Linked DNA regions of Homo sapiens: regions 2, 3 and 4 are each linked to region 1. Evidence: promoter capture Hi-C in human tissues and cell types (Jung and others, 2019). All regions are on one chromosome and are shown on one strand. The core of a region is centred on a gene start or on the middle of the fragment in contact, and the rest is flanking DNA. Distances in the headings are between cores, read along the strand shown. Region 1 holds the start of DECR2 (2,4-dienoyl-CoA reductase 2). Region 2 holds the start of WDR90 (WD repeat domain 90). Region 3 overlaps LUC7L (LUC7 like). Region 4 holds the start of NHLRC4 (NHL repeat containing 4).

Region 1 (3,452 bases), core at 437-2,936:
TGGCTTAAACAAGATAGAGGTTATAATTTCCTCTCTCCTAAGCCCTGCATGGCACTAATATCAAATATGATACCTGAGATTCAGCAAGCTACGTCGGGATAATATGGCTTTTTTATTTATTAGAGATTTTCTTGTACGCATTAAATGTGTACTGATCGGTATGACTGGCACAAACTGTACCAGATGGATGGCAAACTTTTGCTGATCTCCAAGTTGCCTTTCCTATTCTTAATTATTAAAGATTAATTTTGGGCCAGGTGCAGCGTCTCACTCCTGTCATCCCAGCACTTTGGGAGGCCGAGGCAGGTGGATCATCTGAGGTCAGGAGTTCCAGACCAGCCTGACCAACATGGTGACACTCACCTCTACTAGAAATACAATTAGCCCAGCGTGGTATTGTGTGCCTATAGTCCCACTTGGGCGCACTGAGGCTGAAGCAGGAGAATTGGGAGGCTGAGGCAGGAGAATTGCTTCAACCCAGAATGAGACTCCGTTTCGAAAAAAAACTTTTTTTTTTTCCTGCAGAACACTCAGAGAGAATTGTCAATACCTGTCCTTGGAGAACATAATTTAAAACTTGTTTTCTTTTTTTGAGATGGAGTTTCACTCTTGTTGCCCAGTGCAATGGTGCGATCTCGGCTCACTGCAACCTCCACCTCCCGAGTTCAAGTGATTCTCCTGCCTCAGCCTCCCAAGTAGTTGGGATTACAGGTGTGCGCCACCACACCCGGCTAATTTTTTGTATTTTTAGCAGAGACGGGGTTTCACCATGTTGGCCAGGCTGGTCTCGAACTCCTGACCTCTGGTGATCTACCCGCTTCGGCCTCCCAAAGAGCTGGGATTACAGGCGTGAGCCACTGCTCCTGGCAAAAGATCAAAATTTTAATAGAAACTTGAAAATGTTGCCAATTGAAAAAAAGAAAAGGAAAAAAAAAAAAGGATCCGCCCATTAGCCGAGTGAGGGCAGGTGACCGGGGAGGATCGACCTTTGCCCGGGCTGCCTTCTCTTGTGAACACCAAGGCGTTTGCAGGAAAATGAAGAGCTGCTGGGCAAAACCTGGCATTCCTGGGCCTTCTGGGTCTTCCGGAAAAATGATTTCAACCTAAAATTTTCTGTTAAGAAAGAGGCCAGGTTGGGCCGGGCGCGGTGGCTCACGCCTGTAAATCCCAGCACTTTGGGAAGCCGAGGCGGGTGGATCACCTGAGGTCAGGAGTTCGAAAAGAGCCTGACCAACACGGTGACACCCCCTCTCTACTAAAAATAAAAATTAGCCGGGCTGAGGCAGGAGAATCGCTTGAACCCGGGAGGCAGAGTTTGCAGTGAGCGGAGATCGTGCCACTGCACTCCAGCCTGGGCGACACAGCGAGATTCCGTCTCAAAAAAAAAAAAAGAAAGAAAAAAGAAAGAAAGGAGCCAGGCAAGACAGGTTTCCTAACACGCGAGCCCTCGGGGACCACGTGGGGGCGCCGGCGCCCGCGGACCGGACCCCGCACCAAGGCTGCGCTCGCTTCCCAGGCCCCGCTCACCGCAGCAGGTCCGGGCAGAAGAGGTGGCGGTACGCGGGGAGACAGTCGTCCCCCTCCACGTCGGGCGGCGGCTGGGCCATGGCGCTCCCGTCGGGGACTGCGGGGACAACGGGCGGGAGCGGCCTCGGCCTCCAGGACCCGGCGCGCAGCTGCGAACTCGCCTGGAACCGGGAGCCCCGCCCCACTCCCCGGACGCCCCGCCCCTGCCCTGATTGCTTCCCGGAGGCCCCGCCCCTCCCCCGAATTCTCCCCGGAGGCCCCGCCCCCGCCCGCGGCCTGCTGGGACTGGAAGTCGGCGCGCGAGGCGCAGGCGCATTGCGGGGCCGGGGGCGCGGTTCCCGCGGCAGAAGCTCGGCGGTCTGCGGGTCTCCTCCCCGAGTCTTTTTCACAGGTATTCGGCGTCAGCGCCGCGTTCAGAGCCTCCAGGACTTGTGGGATACCCCTGGCTCCTGGGTCCAGGCCAGGCTCGCAGCCTCTGGGCTCCCCGTTCGCCTCCCCGTAAACACCATGGGGAGGGCCGGGGCCCAGGGAAGCGCGGCCAGCCCCGCGCCGCTTCCCAAAATGACCCGTTTTGAGGCCAATAAAGAAGGGTCCGGGGCCGGGCGCGGTGGCTCACGCCTGTAATCCCAACACTTTGGGAGGCCGAGGCGGGCGGATCACGAGGTCAGGAGTTCGAGACCATCCTGGACAACATGGCGAAACCCCCTCTTTACTAAAAATACAAAAATTAGCCGGGCATTGTGGCGGGTGCCTGTAGTTCCATCTACTCGGGAGGCTGAGGCAGGAGAATCGCTTGAACCCGGGAGGCGGAGGTTGCAGTGAGCCGAGATCGCGCCACTGCACTCTATCCTGGGCGACAGAGCGACACTCCGTTTCAAAAACAAAAACAAAAAAAAAAGGGTCCGTTACTTCTGTTCCGCGTGGGGGCCCGGGCGGGGCTATGCCGCGAACCCAGGACGGGGCGCCCCGCCCGCACCACTGTTGGAAGACGGGGGTCCGCGACGGCCACGGGGGAAAAACACGCAGGGCCGCTCCTGAGCTGAACACACCCGCGGGCCAGCGGCTTCAGGGGCGTGACAGAGCCGCCAGCGCTACAGTAATGGCTGCCAGGCCCTTTCTGCGCTGGTTGGCCTCAGCCCGCCGGCCCCTCTCTGCCCCTTCCCCGGGAAGGCAGCTTCTCCTTTGGCGGGATCACAGCACCGGCTCGCGCCTAGCTTGGGTTCTCCGGATTGCAGGCTGGTGGTCTCTGGACCCCTGCCTGGCTCATACATCCAACAACGTTATGGAACTGGGTGTGCAAAACTTCCTCTTTACTGTTCAACTCCTTACAACTTGCATAAAGGCGTCATTTCTACCTCAGAGCTGGGGGAAGTCATAATTAGTGTACCACCCATGTGCTGGGCACAGTGAATTTTAATGCCTCCCCTTTAGAGGAGAGGTTATGATAATGTGAAGACCCCCCCCCACCACAAAGGTTGTCCGGCACTTTGGTGCAAAAAGGATTGGTCCAATCTTGTGCTGGCTTGGGGTACAGAAAGGCACTGAAGTTGGTGGCTCAAACTCCTCTGGGCTGGGGTGGGGCAGAGGTGAACAGGGAAGTAAGTGGTTTGGGACAGGCAGGTTTGGATGTGGGCTTGGGTTCTTGCTGACGGAGGTAGTTGGTCCTGCGTGGGGGATGGGGTGGTAAGGGCAGCTTGAGCCTCAGGCTGGGTGGATGCTGCTGTGCTGGCCCCCGTCTGCCCAGCTCACCAGCTCACTGCTCTGGAACCACAGCTGGATCTCCCGCTGGGCCCCCTCCACGGAGTCGCTGGCGTGGATGACATTCCTGTGCCAGGACAGGAGCAATGTGAGGCTCAGGCTTCATGTGCACCCTGAGGAATCCCAGGGACCATCTGCTGCTCCCGTTGCCCTCTGTCTAGGGGAGC
Region 2 (3,452 bases), core at 599-3,098, 250 kb before region 1:
TCTCACTTGGAAACCTTGGCAGGCAGAGGGAGAGTCAGTGTCTGGGGGCCCAAGGGCCACCCACCCTCCCACCACCGAGGCCTCCCTCGAAAGAAGCAGAACCACTCACCGGACGTGGATGTAGCGGTCATGCCAGCTCTCTCCCTTGGGCACAGGGAATGCCATTTCCCGAGGCATAGGAGTCACGGGCAGCTTTGCCCACTGGGCCCCAGAGATGGCTACAAGGAGCAGGGTTGTTCCAGGTCAAGGGAGGCTGTTTAGCCACCTGAACACAGGGCACCCGCCAAGGCACTGCCACGCCACCAGCCCAGCCACCGCCCCACCCCAGGGCTGCCTCTGGGATGGGTTCTGACCCCAGGGCTGCCTCTGGGATGGGTTCTGGCCAGAGCTCAGAGACAGCACAGCTCGAGCACTGTATTTTCCCAAGCACCCTGGACTTGGGCCTCTCCAGGGCTGAGAGCATGGGTGAGATATGGAGTGGGGAGTGCAGGTGCGGCCCTCACCAGGCTCAAAGCACAGGTCACTGGTGTACAGGTTCCTGACCAGCAGGCTGGCGCACAGCCTGATGCTCTTGAGATGGCCGTAGCACCGGTTCAGGTAGACCAGGAGAACGTCCTGCAGATCGAGCTGCAGGCAGGTCCAGCGGGCTCCGGAGGGGGCCAAACCCACCAGATCTGCAGGATGGGCACTCAGGGTCAGCGCCCACCCTCCTGACAGCCCGCGACTCCCAGAACTGTGAGCTTGTGCCCCCGCCAGGTTGTCCTCCAGGCCGCAGAGGAGCCTCACTGGGCCTGCACCAACTCCCTCCAGCCACCTGTCCTGGATCATCCACACCCCATCTTGGTGTCACCTCTCTGAGGTGTCCTGGCCTCCAGGACCAAGGGAAACTGGAGCCACGTGGCCGTAGACTTAAACTCCTTGAAGAGGTTGGAGAAAGACACACGGATGACTTGGTTGTCCTGTGGGGACGGAGCAGGGCCGTGAGGAGACAGGGGCCGCAGGGGTGCCGGGGCTCCCACGCAGCCCCCAGCCGCGGGCTCCGTACCTTGGAGGACACATCGAGGTGGATGACGAAGTGCTTGCTGGGCAGGGGCCGAAAGAGCACATACAGGTATCGTCCCGTCAGCCCCAGAGACTGGGTGCTGCTCTTAGGGAGCTGGATGTAGTTGGCGGCAGAGACTGAGCCCCGAATGCGATACACGGCGCCCTTCAGGGTCTTGTCCTGGAGAAGCGGGAGCCCGCATCACCGACAGCACCCAGAAGAAGTGCAGCGGGGGCGAGGGGGCCCTCGGGGGCGGGGCAGCTCTCCTGGGGGCAGGGCAGGGGTGTGGGCTCCGGGCGAGCCCCCGGCCGCCTACCGTGACCACGGCCACGTCCCCCTGCTTGGCGGAGCGCTTCCACTCGTCCACCCGGAAGTGTCTGAAGACGTTGAGGAACGGGTGCTGCCACGCTGCGGGGAGCGGGCGCCGGGCGTCAGGGGACTCGGCCACGCGAGCCGGGGCCACTGCGGGGCTGGGCCGGGCCTCGGGGACCAGGCAGGAGCCGGGGCTCTCCGCGCCTTCCCCGGCGACGCCAACGCCAGCTAGGCTGGCGGGACGAGGCCGGGCGCCCGAGGGAAGCCAAGCTCCGGGAGCCCGAGGGTGGGCGCCCGGCAGACGGGACCCTGCCTGAGCGGGGACTCTGGCCTCAGGGCCTAGGCGGGGGCCCTGAGCGCTCCGGCCGCCGACCCTGGACCCCGGAACCCCGGAACCCGGGATCCTCGGGACCCCCGCCAGCCGCGCGCTACCTCGGGCCATGGCGCCGCCGCTCGAGCTTCCCGCCTAGGCCTCCGCGCGCCCAGCGCAGAGTACGCCCCGCGACGCCAGGCAACGGCTGCCTGGCAACGGTGCCACTTCCGCCATTACTTCCGCCGTCATGGCGGCGCCCTGGCCACGTGACCTCCCCGGTGGGAGTACCCCGCTCACGTCAGCGGCCTCCAGGGTTGCTCCAGCCGCGAATCCCGCTGCCCTTTGCCCCGCGGGCCTCCCAAGGCAGCCCCCTGTTAGCCCGACCGGCTTCGAAGCCCGCGCCGGTTGCGGATCCTCCGCCGCGCCCACCTGTCAGCGCCTCGGCCGGCCGGGGCTCCCGCCGCATGCAAGCAGCGAGGCGAGGTCGCGCTGAGGCCTGGCCATGCCACGGACGGCCGGGCCTCACCCTGCCGCTCTCTCGCCGTCCAGAGGCCCCTGCTCCACACCTGGGTACCCTGGGTCCTGACTCAGGTGGGCTGGGTCATCCCCGTCCATCAGGGAAGGTAGTGCGGGCGCCCGCGGAGGGGCTGGTTCCCACGTTCGTCCTATCAGGTTCCCCACGTACTCCTTCGCCCAGTGTCCTGCGGCCGGGCCCGGCGGATTCAGAATGGGACCTGGCGTTCTGAGACACAGCCCCAGTGCCGGTAGTGGGGGGTGGTGGACTGCACTCCGGGGCCATTTAATGTCTTTAGGCCTTGAGTCTCGGCTTCGGTCCCAGTCAACGCCAACGGGAGAGGAAAGAGGAACCAAGTGGGGTCCCCAGACTTCCAAGCAAGGTGGGCTGGCTAACGTCCCTCCTACCTGTCGCAGGGCAGCTGGGTGAGAAGCTAACGGCTTGAAGGAACAGGGCTACAAGGGGAGTTTGTGCTGGGCCTGGCGTCCCAGGCTGTGGACTGGAACTGGACATGAGAACCCCCCCTACACCCTCCCAAGTCAAAGACACTCCAAAAAGACAGTTTCTCCACTTTATTAGCCTGGAGCTCCTCCCTGCCAGCCCCAGGGGCTGGTCGCTGGTCCCTGGGCACAGTGAGCAGGGCTGAGGTCAGACGGGTTCGGCCCTTGGCCATGGCAGCTTGGTTGGGACAGCCGGGCCAAGGGAAAAAAAGGTGCAAAAGTCCAAATGCTGGCACTTCAGGTGTGGCCGGCACCCAGCCAGGCGCAGTGGGTGGGCAGGGCGCCATGCTTCTCTCCTGGCGACAGGTCGGCCGTGTAGCAGCGCCCCCTCCCAGCAGCCACTAGGAACAGCTGGTGATTCTCGCCAGGAACTGCTGCGCCCACCACTCGTCTAGGTCAATGGGCACAAAGTCTGTGGGCAGAGAAGGCTGGGCAGTGATGCTGCCTCCCAGGCCAGCCGGCAAGTCTCCCCTGGAGCTAACCACAAGCCGCTCACCCGGACTCCGAGTGCGGCAGGCGCTGGGAAGAAGGGGTTTCTGCACAAGAGTCCCCTCCCTCATCCCCTGGGGTGGGAACCTGGCAGGGCCTGGGTCAGGATCAGAGGGGCTGGGGGGTCTCTCCTGGGGGGACAGGGTTGGGGGGCTCACTCTGCAGCCGGGGATTGGGGGTCCTCTCCACGTACTGCACAGGCCTTGGCCCGCCCTCACCGGCTGGGCCACCATCCAGCTGCTGTTGCACCTGCTGCCAGGCTGTGGGAGGAGGGCAGTCGGG
Region 3 (3,452 bases), core at 369-2,868, 200 kb after region 1:
CAGGAGATAAGACCATCCTGGCTAACACAGCGAATCCCCGTCTCTACTAAAAATACAAAAAAATTAGCCGGGCATGGCGCCAGGCACCTGTAGTCCCAGCTGCTCCGGAGGCTGAGGAAGGAGAATGGCGTGAACCCGGGAGGCGGAGCTTGCAGTGAGCTGAGATTGCGCCACTGCACTCCAGCCTGGGCGACAGAGCGAGACTCTGTCTCAAAAAAATTTATAAACGCTGTTTTTGCAAGCAGTTTTAGCTTCATAGCTAAATTGAGAGGAAAGTACAGAGATTCTCCATGTACCCTCTCCTCAGACAGCCTCCTCCATTCCTAGCATCTGCCCACAGTCAGTGGGTCTACGTTGACTTGTCATTATCACCCAAAGTCTGCAGAAAATGTTAGGTATGTCATGAATACATAAAATATATGAGGATACTAGTCTTTTATTTACTGCCATAAAATATACACAAGTCTATTATGAAAAGGTAACATTTGTCAAAACTTAAGCATATGGCCAGCTATGGTGGCTCTTGGCTTTAGTCTCAGCTGTTCGGGAGGCTGAGATGAGAGGATCCCTTAATCCTAGGACTTTTGGAGTCCAGCCTGGATAACATAGCAAGACCCTGTCTCTAAAAAAGAAGAGGCTACATGCAAACGCTTACAGACCATACATGACAGCATTCGCCGTAGAGAGATGTTAACAAACGTAGTGCAGAGGTGCAGTATTAAATCAGGGCTGCCTAAGAATAACTGTAATAGGTACTGTACTACTGTAATAATTCATGCCACTTCCTGTTGCCATTGTGTGGAGCTCAAGGGTCGTGAGTATCCCCTTGAAACACCACGTGACACTCATCATCTCCGAAGGAGCAGTTCACCTCTCCAGTACATTCCTACTGCAGTAAAAAGTGAACTCACAGGGTTCCTAGGCGTTTTTCATCGTGTTTAGTGCAATACCATAAACTTTGAGTAATGCCATAGGATCCATATGCCACTAGTGATGCTGAAAATGCTCCCAAGAAGGCAAGAACAGCCATGATATTACAAGAAAAAGTTGAGTTGCTTGATGTATACATTAGATTGAGGTCTGCAGCTGCAGTTGCTACCATTTCAGACGGACAATTCATCTTGTAAATGAGCAGTGTAAACGTACAGAAGTGATCAGTACAGCACAGTACTATAAATGTATTTTATTTTCTCTTCCTTATAATTTTCTCTCTTTTTTTTTTTTTTGAGATGGAGTCTCGCTCTGTCCCCCAGGCTGGAGTGCAGTGGTGCGATCTCAGTTCACTGCAAGCTCCGCTTCCTCGGTTCACACCATTCTCCTGCCTCAGCCTCCAGAGTAGCTGAGACTACAGGCGCCCACCACCACGCCCGGCTAATTTTTTTGTACTTTCAGTAGAGATGGGGTTTCACTGTGTTAGCCAGGATGGTCTCAATCTGACCTCGTGGTCCACCCGCCTCGGTCTCCCAAACTGCTGGGATTACAGGAGTGAGCCACCATGCTCGGCCCATGGCTAATTTTTTTTTTTTTTTTTCATTTCTAGTAGGGATGGGGTTTCACCGTGTTGGCCAAGCTGGTCTCAAACTTCTGACCTCAGGTGATCCGTCTGCCTTGGCCTCCCAAAGTGCTGGGATCACAGGCGTGAGCCACTTCGCCAGGCCATTTGATACCTTTTATGAGTCTTGTAATTTTTCTCATAGTGAAGATCTCATGCATGTTTTGTTAGATTTCTACCTAAATATTTCATGCTTGCGGGTGCTGGTGTAATTGGTCATTTGTTTTTTGGTTTTTGTTTTTGTGTTTTTTTGAGATGGAGTCTCATTCATTCGCCCAGGCTGGAGTGCAGTGGCGTGATCTCGGCTCACTGCAACCTCCGCCTCCCGGGCTCAAGCGATTCTCCTGCCTCAGCCTCCCGAGTAGCTGAGACTATAGGCGTGTGCCACCATACCTGGCTAATTTTTTGTGTTTTTAGTAGAGATATGATTTAACCGTGTTAGCCAGGATGGCCTCTATCTCCTGACCTCATGATCCGCCTGCCTTGGCCTCTCAAAGTGCTGGGATTACAGGTGTGAGCCACCGCGCCCAGCCCTCCCCACCTCCACCCCGCCCCCCGCCCTGAGACGGTCTCACTTTCTCACCCAGGCTGGAGTGCAGTGGCGCGATCTTGGCTCACTGAAGGCTTGATCTCCTGGGCTCATTTGATTCTCCCGCCTCAGCCTTTCAAATAGCTAGGACTGAAGGCACATGCCACCAAGCCCAGCTAATTTTTTGTATTTTTTGGAGAGACTGGGTTTCGCCATGTTGTCAAGGCTGGTCTTGAAATCCTTGGCTCAAGCGATCTGCCTAGCTCTGCTTCCCAAAGTGCTGGGATTAGAGTCATGAGTCACCATGATGCCTGGCCTCTTGTAATACCTTTATCTGGTTTTGGTATTATGGTAATGTCCCCATAGAAGGAGTTAGAAGATACTCTCTCTGCTTCTATTTTCTGAAAGCGATTGTAGAGAATTGGCATGATTTGCTCCCTAATGCTTTGGTAGAATTCACCAGTAAACCCATCTGGACCTGATGCTTTCTGTTTTGGAAGGTTATTAATATACAGATTCATTCAGATCATCTGTTTCTTCTTGTGTGAGTTTTGGCAGATTGTGTCTTTCAACATTATTATACTTTTTTTTTACACGGAGTCTCTCTCTGTTGCCCAGGCTGGAGTGCGGTGGTGCGATGGCTCGCTGCAACCTCCAACTCCTGGGTTCAACTGATTATCCTGCCTCAGCCTCCTGAGCAGCTGAGATTACAGGTGCCTGCCACCATGCCCAGCTAATTTTTGTATTTTTAGTAGAGAAGACGGGGTTTCACCATGTCGGTCAGGCTGGTCTCAAACTCCTGACCTCAAGTGATCCACCTGCCTCAGCCTCCCACAGTGCTGGGATTACAGGCGTGAGCCACTGCTCCTGGCTGTCTTTGAAGGGATCGGTCCATTTCATCTAGTTTATCGCTTTTGTGGGCATGGAGTTGTTGTTTTTAAGAGTTGTTTGTATTATTCCTTTAAAGTGGGTGGATCCGTAATGATGTCCTGTCTTTCATTTCTGATATTAGTACAGTCATATCTTTCTTAATGACAAGGATTAAATATTCTGAGAAGTGCGTTCCATGGTTCATCATTGTGAGAACATTATAGAGTGTGCTTAACAAACCTGGGTGGTATAGCCATGTGGGCTGTATGGTAGAGCCCATTGCTCCTAGGCTCCACACCTGTACAGCATGTTACTGTGCTGAATACTATAGGCAGTTGCAACACAGTGGGCCCCTAAATATTTGTGTACGTAAACATAGAAAAGGTACAGTAAAAATACAGTATAAAAGATAAAAAATAACACTTGATACGGTTTGGATGTGTGGCACGTCCAAATCTCATGTTGAAATGTGACCTCCAATGTTGGAGGTGGGGTCTAGTG
Region 4 (3,452 bases), core at 530-3,029, 170 kb before region 1:
CAGGATCTCAAGGCTTCAGCTGCCAGCCCCAAAGTCCAGGCACAGGGCCTGAGGGGGTGTGGGGGGCATGAATGCAGGGGCCAGGGCACTGAATGGGGACAGCAGAGAGCAGCCCTGGCTGGGGAGGCTGCAGGCCTGGCAGGGGCAGCCTGGGAAGCAGACTCAGGGCTGCTCCTGAGATCCGGAGCCTCACCAGCAGGAGAACTCGAGCCAAGCCCAGGGCCCAGCCCAGGTGGTGCTGGCATCAGGCAGGCAATGCCCATAGCCTGGAGGCTCCACCCATCCTGAGGGTTCCTCCCGCGGTGATCCAAGGGCCTGGGAGCTGGCCTCAGGCACAGGAGGGCTGCTCCAACCCAGCCTCAGGTCAGGCCAGCTCCTTGAGGCCCTGGTACACCTTGATGGAGTTGTCCTTGGCATCAGCCACCAGGAGCTGGCCCTGGGGTGCACAGGCCACTCCCAAGGGCTGCCCAAGCCCCTCTGACACCAGGCAGATGGGTGGCCCAGCCCGGGGAAACAGGGTCACCTGGCGCCTCTGCTCGTCTGCCACAATAACATTGCCCTCTGAGTTGGAGCAGATGCCCGCTGGGCAGCCGAAAGTGTGCCCCGTCCAGCCCCCCAGGGAGCCCAGGGGTTGGCGGGCACTGCCAAACAGCCTCACATCCCCAAACTCCTCACTCACAGCAAGGCCCCCATCAGGCCCTGGGCCCACCCAGCAGGGGCCCTCCAGACCCAGCATGGAGGCTGGGGCCAGGGGCTCCCAAGCAGGACCCAACGAGAAGCTGTGCACAGCCCCAGGCAAGTAGTCCGTCACCAGGAGGCGGTTGAGGGCATCCACAGCCAGCCCTCGGGGAGACAGGAAGGTGCCCACTGTCACCCAGTGGCCCCCGGGGTCCCGGGCTGTGTGCTGGAGTGCATGGACAGCCCCATGGATGGGATCGCTGACCACCACAAGCCCTGACGCTGTCACAGCCACGTCCTCTGGAACGAAGGCCCCGCTCCCCGGAGTGCGGCAGGGCAGGAGGCAGATGGGGCGTCCCTCCAGATCTAGCACGTGGACACAGGGTGCAGCCCCGGCCGTGAGGAAGAGCAGGCCATCGGGGGAGCAGTGCAGGCCCCGGGGCCCTCCCACAGCCCCTGCGGGCACCCGGATCCACCCAAGCAGCCGGAGCTGCCGGGAGCCCGTGGAGTCTCCAGGTGGGTCCAGTGTGAGGTGCAGACACCTGGAGGCCAGAGTCCAGTCAGTCCGAATCACCGTCTCAGCTTCTCTGCAGCTGGGTCACGCTTGGGGCTGCAAGAGAGAGAATAAGGCCCCACTGTGTGTGGGAATGGCAAAGTCACTCCTCCAGTTTCTTCCTATGAGGCCGGGTCCTCCTGGTCCTGAGGGTCTACCTGGCCACCAAGCCCAGCGGCCACCCTAGTGTCTAGGTGCCTGGGACTTGAGTCTGGGAGACACATGACCCGTGGAGCTCGCTGTGGGTTTTCCCCTGAGCCCCAGATGAGCTCATGGGCCTCAGACAGATAAGCAACATTTCTCAAATCCATCTGCCTGTGGAACCCCTTTCTACGGCGGGGGGGCGGTCACCCACACACAGCCCTTCTACCCGAGCCCCTAGGTCAGGGAGACTTCTGACCCCTTAGGGGCGAGGCAGCCTATTCCGAGGGCCTCCACCTGCCCCACCGAGAGAGGCCGGGGGGAGGGGTCTCTTACCTGGGCCCTGTCTCGCTGGGCCCTGCTTCGGGGCTGGGTGGCTGCAGCCTCTGTTGTTGGAAACTAGAACTGGAGGAAGTGGGAGGAGCCACTGGCAGGGACGCAGCTGGGCCGGGTGGAGGAGGGAGAGTGCAGTCTCCGGCCTTGGCCCCTGAAGCTTCTATGAAAGAAAAACCAGGTCCCCTGAGGACTCCCCATGCTGTGGTGTTCCTGCCTCCGCGCCTTGTTGCAGGCTGCGCCCTCTGCCCGGACACTATTCCCACGTCCCCTACACGGCCAGATGCCATGCAGCCCACCCCCCTCCAGGGGTCCCCCATGGTCCCCCCACAACCAGCAAGTTCATTACTCCAAGTGGCAAGGCAGCCCCAGGCTGCCACCCCCAAGCAGGGTCCTTGGGTCTGGACCACAGGCGGGTGACCTGCTGGCTGAGGCACCCTCCATGAGGCCTGTCCTGCTCCCCACGGGTGACAGCGAAGGAGGTCGTGTCTCCACACCTGGGAGACGGGTGCTGTTGCCCCCAGCAAGGCCATGCTCACCTGTCTGCTCAGTGGGGGTGAGAAACTGAGGTGCAGTGGACATATGGGGTGCAGTGGACATATGGGGGGCGGGGGCTGAGGACAGGGAGTCTCCCTCAGACTCGGGACTTGGGAACAGTTCCTGGCTGCCCAGAGCCCCCTGCAGCCCCTCCAGGAAGCCTCTGGGTAGAGGGGCCCGGCTGGGACCTGTCCCCACAGCACTCCGCGCCTGGCCAGGCAGCACCCCAGCTCTAGCTGCCCCGAGGCAGGGTCGGGGCTGATGCTATCTCCCTGGTAGTTAATGGGGCCGCTGCCAGCCTGCTTGGACTGGCCCCAGCCCGGCTGGACGCAGGCAGGAACTGCTTCTCCTCCTGGGGGGGCGATGTGGGCTCCAGAGCCCATTCCAGGGTGGGCGTGGAGGGTGTGGCCAGCTCTCCCAGGAGAGAAGTGATTTGCTGTGGGGGTCCCGGGTGCCCCTCCCTGTCTGCCCATCCCCTGCCCGTGGGAGGGCCAAGCCAGGCCCTGCTGGGAGGGAGGCAGTGAGCTGTGAAGGCTGATACCTATCACGGCTGCAGGGGCTGGCAGGGGCCAGCAGAGCCCACGCTGGGTGAGCAGCCTCCAGCCACAGAGCCCCGGGGCCACCGTTTAACCGCAGGAGAGCTGATATGAGCGCGGCCTTGCTGGATTCAGAGGCTAGAGGATGTTCAGGGGTCCGTGCCCACCCCCGACACACCAAGACACAGGCCGAGCAGCCCAGTCCACACGCCTCTCCACCCCCGACACACCAAGACACAGGCCGAGCAGCCCAGTCCACACGGCTCTCCTGGCTCAGCTCCCGTCGCCGATGTCCCGCCCCACCCCCAGACCCCAGCCCCGCGGGGAGGGCCCAGCCCACAGGAGAGGGCCGAGTCTGAAGACAGAGGCCCAGCAGGACTGCTGCCCACCCAGGCCTCCCAGGCCAGGACACTTCCTTAGGGGGGTGTCCAGGTGGCTACACTAGGGCCCCAAAGGAAGGAGGCACAGACGGCGTGTGTGAACAGTTTCTGTTTTAATGTCCACAATTGTGATCAATAAATAACTGTGACCTCCAGTGTCCCTGTGTGGCCCCAGGGACAAGCGTTGGCCACGGCCCGTGGGGGTCTATCCACATGCATGCGGAGGCGGGGCAGGTCCCAGGCAGGTGAGGGGCAGGGGCTGCAGGAGAGGGGCCGGCATGCTGCAGGCAGAGA

Evidence for each region. Contacts are between HindIII fragments. The study calls those that stand out against the background at their distance.
Region 2: the fragment with the promoter of WDR90 here is called in contact with the fragment with the promoter of DECR2 in region 1 in 2 of the 25 tissues and cell types used here (IMR-90 fibroblasts and lymphoblastoid cells).
Region 3: a fragment that was not itself captured here is called in contact with the fragment with the promoter of DECR2 in region 1 in 1 of the 25 tissues and cell types used here (dorsolateral prefrontal cortex).
Region 4: the fragment with the promoter of NHLRC4 here is called in contact with the fragment with the promoter of DECR2 in region 1 in 1 of the 25 tissues and cell types used here (lymphoblastoid cells).

The regions. Positions count from the first base shown.
Region 1 is chr16:400,119-403,570 of GRCh38, reverse strand. DECR2 (2,4-dienoyl-CoA reductase 2) reads right to left here and starts at 1,686. Exons shown (of 9, transcript NM_020664.4): 1 at 1,528-1,686. The coding sequence starts at 1,607. It overlaps NME4 (NME/NM23 nucleoside diphosphate kinase 4), which reads right to left. Exons shown (of 5, transcript NM_005009.3): 5 at 2,817-3,352. The coding sequence ends at 3,229. RefSeq lists enhancers at 2,121-2,706, 2,554-2,863. The HindIII fragment of the contact is 11,138 bases long and covers 1-2,919 here.
Region 2 is chr16:647,761-651,212 of GRCh38, reverse strand. WDR90 (WD repeat domain 90) reads right to left here and starts at 1,848. Exons shown (of 41, transcript NM_145294.5): 1 at 1,787-1,848; 2 at 1,359-1,450; 3 at 1,046-1,222; 4 at 851-959; 5 at 504-674; 6 at 110-218; 7 at 1-14. The coding sequence starts at 1,796. MCRIP2 (MAPK regulated corepressor interacting protein 2) reads right to left here. Exons shown (of 5, transcript NM_138418.4): 4 at 3,329-3,430; 5 at 2,739-3,093. The coding sequence ends at 3,023. It overlaps LOC105371038 (a long non-coding RNA gene), which reads left to right and starts at 1,900. Exons shown (of 2, transcript NR_135177.1): 1 at 1,900-2,258; 2 at 2,598-2,755. RefSeq lists silencers at 1,474-1,603, 1,714-1,813 and enhancers at 989-1,811, 3,234-3,283. The HindIII fragment of the contact is 7,525 bases long and covers 1-3,452 here.
Region 3 is chr16:202,368-205,819 of GRCh38, reverse strand. All of the region lies in intron 5 of LUC7L (LUC7 like), which reads left to right. Among named protein-coding and RNA genes, the nearest start is that of HBQ1, 24 kb to the right of the region's middle. The HindIII fragment of the contact is 7,140 bases long and covers 1-3,452 here.
Region 4 is chr16:565,332-568,783 of GRCh38, reverse strand. It overlaps NHLRC4 (NHL repeat containing 4), which reads right to left and starts at 1,779. Exons shown (of 2, transcript NM_001301159.2): 1 at 1,709-1,779; 2 at 1-1,313. The coding sequence starts at 736. The coding sequence ends at 365. It overlaps PRR35 (proline rich 35), which reads right to left. Exons shown (of 3, transcript NM_145270.3): 3 at 3,255-3,452. RefSeq lists enhancers at 1,455-1,504, 1,453-2,348, 3,244-3,452. The HindIII fragment of the contact is 8,856 bases long and covers 1-3,452 here.